Linked DNA regions of Homo sapiens: all the other regions are linked to region 3. The links are contacts of gene promoters, found by promoter capture Hi-C in blood cells and fetal thymus (Javierre and others, 2016). All regions are on one chromosome and are shown on one strand. The core of a region is centred on a gene start or on the middle of the fragment in contact, and the rest is flanking DNA. Distances in the headings are between cores, read along the strand shown. Region 1 overlaps DHX8 (DEAH-box helicase 8). Region 2 has its middle 10 kb from the start of MIR2117HG. Region 3 holds the start of SOST (sclerostin).

Evidence for each region. Contacts are between HindIII fragments. The CHiCAGO score rates a contact against its expected background, and 5 or more counts as called.
Region 1: a contact is called between a fragment that was not itself captured here and the fragment with the promoter of SOST in region 3, in 3 of 17 cell types (M1 macrophages, endothelial precursors and M2 macrophages). The highest score is 7.0, in M1 macrophages.
Region 2: a contact is called between a fragment that was not itself captured here and the fragment with the promoter of SOST in region 3, in 1 of 17 cell types (erythroblasts). The highest score is 5.1, in erythroblasts.

What each region holds. Positions count from the first base shown.
Region 1 is chr17:43,499,550-43,502,793 of GRCh38, reverse strand. It overlaps DHX8 (DEAH-box helicase 8), which reads right to left. Exons shown (of 23, transcript NM_004941.3): 11 at 2,691-2,838. Among named protein-coding and RNA genes, the nearest start is that of DHX8, 17 kb to the right of the region's middle. The HindIII fragment of the contact is 951 bases long and covers 895-1,845 here.
Region 2 is chr17:43,432,684-43,435,849 of GRCh38, reverse strand. No RefSeq gene overlaps it. Among named protein-coding and RNA genes, the nearest start is that of MIR2117HG, 10 kb to the left of the region's middle. The HindIII fragment of the contact is 4,796 bases long and covers 1-3,166 here.
Region 3 is chr17:43,757,405-43,760,734 of GRCh38, reverse strand. SOST (sclerostin) reads left to right here and starts at 1,944. Exons shown (of 2, transcript NM_025237.3): 1 at 1,944-2,213. The coding sequence starts at 1,994. RefSeq lists a silencer at 1-294. The HindIII fragment of the contact is 6,420 bases long and covers 976-3,330 here.

The sequences.
Region 1 (3,244 bases), core at 121-2,620, 260 kb after region 3:
TACTGTAAATCTAATATTTTGGTTTTTATTTTTGTCGTTTTTAAAAATTTAATTTTAAAATAGAGACAAGGGCTAGGCACGGTGGCTCACCAGTAATCCCAGCACTTTGGGAGGCCAAGGTGGGCAAGATCATTTGAGGTCAGAAGTTCGAGACCAGCCTGACCAACATGGTGAAACGCTGTCTCTACCAAAAATGCAAAATAATTACTCGTGCGTGGTGGCGGTCACCTGTAGTCCCAGCTACTTGAGGCTGAGGCAGGAGAATCGCTTGAACCCAGGAGGCAGAGGTTGCAGTGAGCCAAGACTGCACCACTGCACTCCAGCTGGGGCAACATAGTGAGACTCCATCTCAAAAACTAAACTAAACTAAACTAAAATAACAAAACAAAACAAAATAAAATAAAATACAGATAAGGTCTTACTATGTTGCCCAGACTGGTCTTGAACTCCTGGCCTCAAGCAATTCTCCTGCCTCGGCCTCCCAAAGTGTTGGGATTACAGGCGTGAGCCATCATGCCGAACCTAATCTAATATTTGAATCTCTATTACATGCAGCCAAACTGATATCTAAATTAACACAATTCCCAAACTTCTGTCTCCAGCCCAGACCTCTCTTCTGAGCTCTTATACTCAATTCTACACTGGATACCTCAACCTAAGATGTCCTCTAGTTGCCTCGGACACAAGTCCAAAACGGAATTTGACCATCTTTCCCCACAAACCCATTTCTCCTCCAGTGTTCCCATCATTCATCCTAGTGCTCATACCAGAAACCTGGAAGTCATCTTTGACCATTCCTGTTGCCCCACATTCAACAAATTACTTTTCTCAAGTACATCCCTCCTCTTTGCTACCTCCATGTTCAAGCCACCATTCTCTCTCTTCATAAAAGCTTTCTAAATCATCACATGTGCCCCATCCAACTCATTCTGCAGGGCACCCTCAATCATCCTTTGGAAATGCAACTCTGGTCATGCCATGTGCCAGCTGCAAACTTTCAACATCTGGCTGGGCACGGTGGCTCACACTTGTAATCCCGGCACTTTGGGAGGCTGAGATGGGGGGGGGATCACCTGAGGTCGCGAGTTCGAGACCAGCCTGACCAACATGGAGGAACCTCGTCTCTACTAAAAATACAAAAAATTAGCTAGGCGTGGTGGTGCATGCCTGTAATCCCAGCTACCTGGGAGTCTGAGGCAGGAGAATCACTTGAACCAGGGAGGTGGAGGTTGCAGTGAGTCAAGATCATGGTGTTGCACTCCAGCCTAGGCAACAAGAGCAAAACTCTGTCTCAGAAACAAAAACAACAACAACAAAAGAACTTTTCAACATCTCCCAGTGCTATTAGAATTGAGCCCAGCTTCCTAATGCCACCTACAAAGCCCTGGCCTGATGTTCTTATCTCATCCCCTACCACTGCCCACTGCTCTCTCTATTCCATCCACACAAGCCTTCTTTCAGTTCCTTCTTTCCCACCCCACAAACCCAACACGGGCTACTCCTCAGGCTGGAACATACTCCCCAACCTCCATCCCATCTCCACTTGACAGACTGAGTCCAATTTATCCTTTGGGTCTCGATTTCCCCAGGGAAGTGACCCACCACAGTCAATTACACTGCCTGTACTTCTTCACATGGCACTGATCATAATTTAATTATTTGGTGATTATTTAATTAATATCCATATCCCCGACTAAGTTGTAGCGCATAAAAGCAGGGATCATATCTGTTTAATTCAAATCGTATCCCCAGTTGCCAAACACAAATTAAATTAATAAGTATTTGTTATGACTATATCTAGTAGCTAATATTTACTGCACAAAGAATTATATGAAAAAGGAAGCTTCAAAGCTGTATTACCTTTAGAATAAAAATTTTTTTTTTGAGACGGAGTCTCACTCTGTAGCCAGGCTGGAGTGCAGTGGCGCGATCTTGGCTCACTGCAACCTCCGCCTCCAGGGTTCAAGCGATTCCCCTGCCTCAGTCTCTCGAGTAGCTGGGACTACAGGCGCGCACCACCACACCTGGCTATTTTTTGTATTTTTAGTAAAGACGGGGTTTCACCATGTTGGCCAGGATGGTCTCGATCTCCTGACCTTGTGATCCGCCCGCCTCAGCCTCCCAAAGTGCTGGGATTACAGCATGAGACACCGCGCTAGAATAACATTTTTAAAGTGATTCAGAAGAAAAACTCAGTCTAATGATTTGACCATGGCTATTAAAACATTTTTGGTTTTAAACATGTGTTTAAGAAAAAACCAAACATGCTCTAACTGAAGTGAAAAACCAAGGGTAAATTTTTTTTTCGAGATGGAGTGTCATTCTATCACCCAGGCTGGAGTACACTTGCCTGATCTCAGCTCACTGCAACTTCCACCTCCTGGGTTTAAGCGATTCTCCTGCCTCAGCCTCCCGAGTAGCTGGGATTACAGGTGTGTGCCACCATGCCTGGCTAACTTTTGTATTTTTTTAGTAGAGACTTGGTTTCACCATGTTGGCCAGGTCGGTCTCGAACTCCTGACCTCAGGTGATCCACCTGCCTTGGCCTCCCAAAGTGCTGGGATTACAGGCATGAGCCACCGCCCCGGCCCAAGGGTAAATTTTTAGTGTGTGCCGGGAGTGACCCCTCCCTGTGTTCTGAAAGGCTCAGATTTTTAAACAAGGTCCATACACCCCTCCAAGGGTCCTACCATCAGGCAGAGGGTCAACCCAGTGTTTGTTGAGTCCCATGGGAATAGAATCCATCTCAGCTTCCCGCTGGGCCTGTTTGAGTTCCCGCCTTTCTTTGGCCAAGGCACTCTGCATCATTGCTGCTTGGGAGAGGGAGCCGTCTGGGTTCTGGTGCAACAGAAGAAAAAACAACATGGATTAAATGTCCGGGAAATAATATGTAGAAGTTAAGCTCCTGTAATCTAAAACATGAGACTACATCTGGAATAAAGTTCTTATCAATGTAACAGACTATATGAAAGAAATGGATAAACCGTAGCATATTCAGATAAAATGAACAAGGACAATGTTACATCATTGAAGGAACTGGATGTTTAGTTTGAATATGAGAACCCCAAAAGAGATAGGAATGATGTGCTACCTTTAAACGTATGAAGGACATAAGAAAGGTATAAGAATTTTTCTGTATGACCCTGGGAACCAAAATCAAGACCAATGTGGACACTTCAGTGAGCGAGGTTTCAGGTATGCCTAAAGAAGAACTAGCGATCAGATCCATCTCATGATGAAATGT
Region 2 (3,166 bases), core at 574-3,073, 320 kb after region 3:
TAATCTCAGCACTTTTGGAGGCTGAGATGGGCAGATCACTTGAGGTCAGGTGTCCAAGACCAGCCTGGCCAAAATGGTGAAACCCTGTCTCTCCTAAAAATACAAAAAATTAGCTGGGCATGGTGGTGTGTGCCTGTAATCTCAGCTACTCGGAGGCTAAGGCAGGAGAATCACTTGAAACCCAGAGGTGGAGGTTGCAGTGAGCTGAGATCACGCCACTACATTTCAGCCTGGGTGACAGAGCAATACTCTGTCCCCCCCCACAAAAAAAGACAGTCAACAGAAGATTTTAAGCAAGGAAGCAACTGCTTTGAGATTTGGGGGAAGGTAAATCTGGGAGTAGATATCAAGTGCATAGGGAAAGGCTAAAGCCAAGGGGACCAGATAAAAGATTATTAAAGATTTTCTAGAGTGATTATACCTAGTAATGGAGAGGGTATAGACAGATGAACATTCTCATGTCCATCCCATGTCCATGCTCATGTCCATTATACACTCACCATGCTGGTACAGCCTTTCTGGAAGACAGAGCAGCCACAGCCATTACAGTGCCTTTGTGAGAATTGCAACAAGATACTCCTACCTCCAAACAGACACAACCCCATGCCAAGGTGCGTGGCTTGGCAAGCAAAGTTGCCGCCATCCACCTCCCCTTGACACTGACTCCTGTGTGCACTAGCCCTGCTAAAGAGCAAGTTCACAGAGTTATACAACTGCACATAATCAGCCTCTGCTATGGATCACTAAACATGGAGAATATAGGGATTGTTCTATAAAGGAACAGGCTGACCACAGAGCTATGTGTATCTCAGAAGTGCCCAAGAAACAGCGAGGGTTCTGGAAGAGCTTGGACTCAGGAAACCACATCAAGGGCAAGTATCATTAATCACCTATCCGGTAGATACTCTCCCACCTTGATTCAGAATCCTCCTTTGGTCAGACAGCAACATGACCAGCACCAGGAATGACTCAAGATCGGTCTAAGCCGATCTCGGTCATTGCTGTTCCCTTTGCCAGATATTGATCCAAGGGGATACATAACATAGTTCCAGTTAACAATGCAGAGAGTTGTTTCTGGAAGGATTTGCACCCCCCTAAAAAGAGAGAAGTATGTGAAGTGGAAGCCCTTTTGCTGCCACCAAGATCTGCTTCCCTTGTTTCCTGCTTGGAAGATTGTTGTGCAAAGATGTAATGTTGGAGTTGTGGCAGCTACTTTGCAACAATGAAGAATCTCAGAGATTCTGAGCCAAGAGGATCTCAGATATTCTGACTCAGTTTCCTGACTTTGATGAGCTGCTTAACTAATCCTGGAACAATGTAACTCCAAAGTTCACATTTTGTGAGATAGGTAAACATCTTTACAATTTAAGTCACTAGTCTTTAGATATTGTGTTACTTGCAGTTGAACACCTCTGAACATTCTGAACATTTGCCAATTAATTTGTTCAACAAGTATATAATAGCTTCTACTTAATACTAGGGATTTAAAGATGTGATAAGGTTCTAGGCTGGGCACAGTGGCTTATGCCTGTAATTCCAGCACTTTGGGAGGCCGAGGTGGGCGGATCATGAGGTCAGGAAATTCAAACCAGCCTGGCCAACATAGTGAAACCCCATCTCTACTAAAAATACAAAAATTAGCTGGATGTGGTGCTGGGCGCCTGTAGTCCCAGCTACTTGGGAGGCTGAGGTGGTAGAATCGCTTGAACCCAGGAGGTGGAGGTTGCAGTGAGCCGAGATTGCGCCACTGCACTCCAGCCTGGTGACAGATCAAGAGCAAGACTCTGTCAAAAAAAAAAAAAAAAGGTTCTAAAGGAGAATTTATATTCTAAAGGGGAAGACAGACACAGTTAAACAAACAAACTCATGGGACAAATGCTCTAACAGAGGTATGAACAAATTACTGCAGGATGATGGAAAGCCAGTTGACTTGGCCTGAGAATAAGAGGATATACAGATGGGGTTTTGTTTAGATCTTAAGTGTGAGGGATATTCATGTGAAGACATCTATGATGCTACAAGTAAGAGATCTGAATTAAACTCATAAACTTTGGCAGCAACAGTGCAGAGCTGGTAGTCAAAGTCATGGGAGATGTTAGTATCTCCCTATGTACCATTGGGAATGCTTTCAGCTGCAGGTAGCAGAAAACCCAACTCATAGCAACTCAAAAATGAGAATAGCAGGTTCAGTCCAGGATTGATTCACTTACTGGCTTAACTACCTCAAAGCTCAGGACAGCATCACTGTGACTGACTCTGTTCAACTTCTCCCCAGGCTCAGCTGCAGATGGATTCTACAGCTTCAGGCACCATGTCCTCAAATCTTGTTTAAAGGTATAAAAGGCAGCTTCTCCCCACACATTTGTTTCCTGAAATGCCTCCCATCTAAACTTCTGTTTGTGCTCCATTGGCAAGGAGTATGTCACATGTCTAATCATTTTTTTTTTTTTTTTGACGGAGTCTCAGTCTGTCAGCCAGGCTGGAGTACACTGGCAGAATTTCAGCTCACTGCAAGCATCGCCTCCCAGGTTCAAGCGATTCTCCTGCCTCAGCCTCCCGAGTAGCTGAGGACTACAGGCACGTGTCACCACACCCGGCTAATTTTTGTATTTTTAGTAGAGACAGGGTTTCACTATGTTGGCCAGGCTGGTCTCAAACACCTGACCTCATGATCCAGCCGCGACAGCCTCCCAAAGTACGGGGATTACAGGCGTGAGTCACTGTGCCCAGCCTACGTGTCCACTCTTAAATCATAGGCAAAGATAAATGATTTACCATGATTGTTTGAACCAATCATGATTCATCCTTTGGCACAGAGGAGGGGTCACCCTCCCTGAACAAGAAGAGAGAATGGCTGGGTGCGGTGTATCTTGCCTGTAGTCTCAGCACTTTGTGAAGCCAAGGCAGGCAGATAACCTGAGGTCAGGAGTTCAAGACCAGCCTGGCCAACATGGTGAAACCCTGTCTCTACTAAAAATACAAAAATTAGCCAAACATGGTGGCCTGCGCCTGTAATCCCAGCTATTCGAGAGGCTGAGGCAGGAGAATCACTTGAACCCAGGAGGCAGAGGTTGCTGTGAGCCAAGATAGCCCCAGTGTACTCCAGCCTGGGTGACAGAGCAAGACTTGTCTAAAAAAAAAAAAAAAAGGCCATGTGCAGTGGCTC
Region 3 (3,330 bases), core at 695-3,194:
ATTTAGAGGTTCAAGTCCACTGGATTCTTCTTTTTCCTTTTAATATTACTTCACTTCCAAATAAGGAAAGGAAAGGAAAGGAAATCACGTCCAGTCCTGAGACTTGCCATCCTGCAGTCACCCCTCCTTTTGTCTCCAGCAGGTGGCAGACGCGTTCCAGGGATGAATCCCACTGCCTCTGTTTAATGCAGACGGTCCAGCCGCTCCCAACAGCAGGTGGGGCTATAAGCATCCATCCTACCTGCTCAAGGAACCCAGGCATCAGAACTGCTCTCTCCCAAGTCCATTGCAAGAAGGCAGTCGTCTGGTCATGAGAGGGTTAACAGTCCACATTCCAGAGCAAGGGAAAAGGAGGCTGGAGGGTCATAGACAAGGGGAGGTGGCGCGGAGGGCCAGCTTCTCACAACACTACCGGCTCTGCTGGGAGAGATAGATCACCCCCAACAATGGCCACAGCTGTTTTCATCTGCCCTGAAGGAAACTGACTTAGGAAGCAGGTATCAGAGAGGGCCCTTCCTGAGGGGGCTTCTGTCTGGCTTGTAAAACTGTCAGAGCAGCTGCATTCATGTGTCGGATGATGGATGATGGAAAGGAGGACAGTCGGCTGCAGATGGACACAGCGACTTGCAAGTTGAGGCAGGTGGCAAAGGACTTGCAGAGGCTCTGCAGGTGGGGCATGCTGATTCATTGCCCAGTTAAAATACCAGAGGATCTGGGCAGCCTCTTCACAGGAGCTGCTTGTCCTCAAACAATCTGTCTTCAATGAAAGATTCCTCTGGCCTTCCTTTCTCTTCTTGCACCTCAGGTGTGAATCCTTCTCCCCCACGCCTCTACCTGCCCCCCCGCCCCCCGCCCCGGCCCTGTGTGGCTCATTATATGCAGGGCCAAGGCAGCATTTTCTCTTAGCTTCTTTGTGACCACTTGGTCCTGGGATGGCTTCATGGAACACATCCTGTGGTGTGCACCAATGAAGCTTTCCATACAGGACTCAAAACTGTTTTTGAAAAATGTAACCAGCTGGAAGACAAGAAAATAAAATGTCAGCACTAAAAACGCTGGCTGTGGCTTTTGCTAAGGAAAGGAATTTGGTGTTGTCTTCTCACACACACAGACTGGTTGGGGAAATGACTGTCTTCAGCACATCACCCTGCGAGCCACAGTGAGTGCCCTGGCTCAGAAGTGCCTGTCACAGTGCACAGGATCCCTGAGGAGCATGAGCTGGGATTTCCTCTGTGCTGTCCACCACAGGAGCCTGAGTGACCAGCGCATCCTCGATTTGTAACCAGAATCCTGCCCTCTCTCCCAAGCGGGCACCCTTGCTCTGACCCTCTAGTTCTCTCTCTTGCCTTCCAGAGAATACCAAGAGAGGCTTTCTTGGTTAGGACAATGAATGCTGAGACTTGTGGAGTTGGGACCAATGGGATTTCTTTAAAAGCATCTTTTTGCCTCTGGCTGGGTCTATGGGGGTCAAACAGAAACGCCTTGGGCCATTTGTTGGTGGGGTGACAAATGAACTTGGCCTGAGAAATGGAATAGGCCGGGCTCAGCCCCGCGAAGCACTCAGAACTGCACATTTTCTTTGTTGAGCGGGTCCACAGTTTGTTTTGAGAATGCCCGAGGGCCCAGGGAGACAGACAATTAAAAGCCGGAGCTCATTTTGATATCTGAAAACCACAGCCGCCAGCACGTGGGAGGTGCCGGAGAGCAGGCTTGGGCCTTGCCTCACACGCCCCCTCTCTCTGGGTCACCTGGGAGTGCCAGCAGCAATTTGGAAGTTTGCTGAGCTAGAGGAGAAGTCTTTGGGGAGGGTTTGCTCTGAGCACACCCCTTTCCCTCCCTCCGGGGCTGAGGGAAACATGGGACCAGCCCTGCCCCAGCCTGTCCTCATTGGCTGGCATGAAGCAGAGAGGGGCTTTAAAAAGGCGACCGTGTCTCGGCTGGAGACCAGAGCCTGTGCTACTGGAAGGTGGCGTGCCCTCCTCTGGCTGGTACCATGCAGCTCCCACTGGCCCTGTGTCTCGTCTGCCTGCTGGTACACACAGCCTTCCGTGTAGTGGAGGGCCAGGGGTGGCAGGCGTTCAAGAATGATGCCACGGAAATCATCCCCGAGCTCGGAGAGTACCCCGAGCCTCCACCGGAGCTGGAGAACAACAAGACCATGAACCGGGCGGAGAACGGAGGGCGGCCTCCCCACCACCCCTTTGAGACCAAAGGTATGGGGTGGAGGAGAGAATTCTTAGTAAAAGATCCTGGGGAGGTTTTAGAAACTTCTCTTTGGGAGGCTTGGAAGACTGGGGTAGACCCAGTGAAGATTGCTGGCCTCTGCCAGCACTGGTCGAGGAACAGTCTTGCCTGGAGGTGGGGGAAGAATGGCTCGCTGGTGCAGCCTTCAAATTCAGGTGCAGAGGCATGAGGCAACAGACGCTGGTGAGAGCCCAGGGCAGGGAGGACGCTGGGGTGGTGAGGGTATGGCATCAGGGCATCAGAACAGGCTCAGGGGCTCAGAAAAGAAAAGGTTTCAAAGAATCTCCTCCTGGGAATATAGGAGCCACGTCCAGCTGCTGGTACCACTGGGAAGGGAACAAGGTAAGGGAGCCTCCCATCCACAGAACAGCACCTGTGGGGCACCGGACACTCTATGCTGGTGGTGGCTGTCCCCACCACACAGACCCACATCATGGAATCCCCAGGAGGTGAACCCCCAGCTCGAAGGGGAAGAAACAGGTTCCAGGCACTCAGTAACTTGGTAGTGAGAAGAGCTGAGGTGTGAACCTGGTTTGATCCAACTGCAAGATAGCCCTGGTGTGTGGGGGGGTGTGGGGGACAGATCTCCACAAAGCAGTGGGGAGGAAGGCCAGAGAGGCACCCCTGCAGTGTGCATTGCCCACGGCCTGCCCAGGGAGCTGGCACTTGAAGGAATGGGAGTTTTCGGCACAGTTTTAGCCCCTGACATGGGTGCAGCTGAGTCCAGGCCCTGGAGGGGAGAGCAGCATCCTCTGTGCAGGAGTAGGGACATCTGTCCTCAGCAGCCACCCCAGTCCCAACCTTGCCTCATTCCAGGGGAGGGAGAAGGAAGAGGAACCCTGGGTTCCTGGTCAGGCCTGCACAGAGAAGCCCAGGTGACAGTGTGCATCTGGCTCTATAATTGGCAGGAATCCTGAGGCCATGGGGGCGTCTGAAATGACACTTCAGACTAAGAGCTTCCCTGTCCTCTGGCCATTATCCAGGTGGCAGAGAAGTCCACTGCCCAGGCTCCTGGACCCCAGCCCTCCCCGCCTCACAACCTGTTGGGACTATGGGGTGCTAAAAAGGGCAACTGCATGGGAGGCC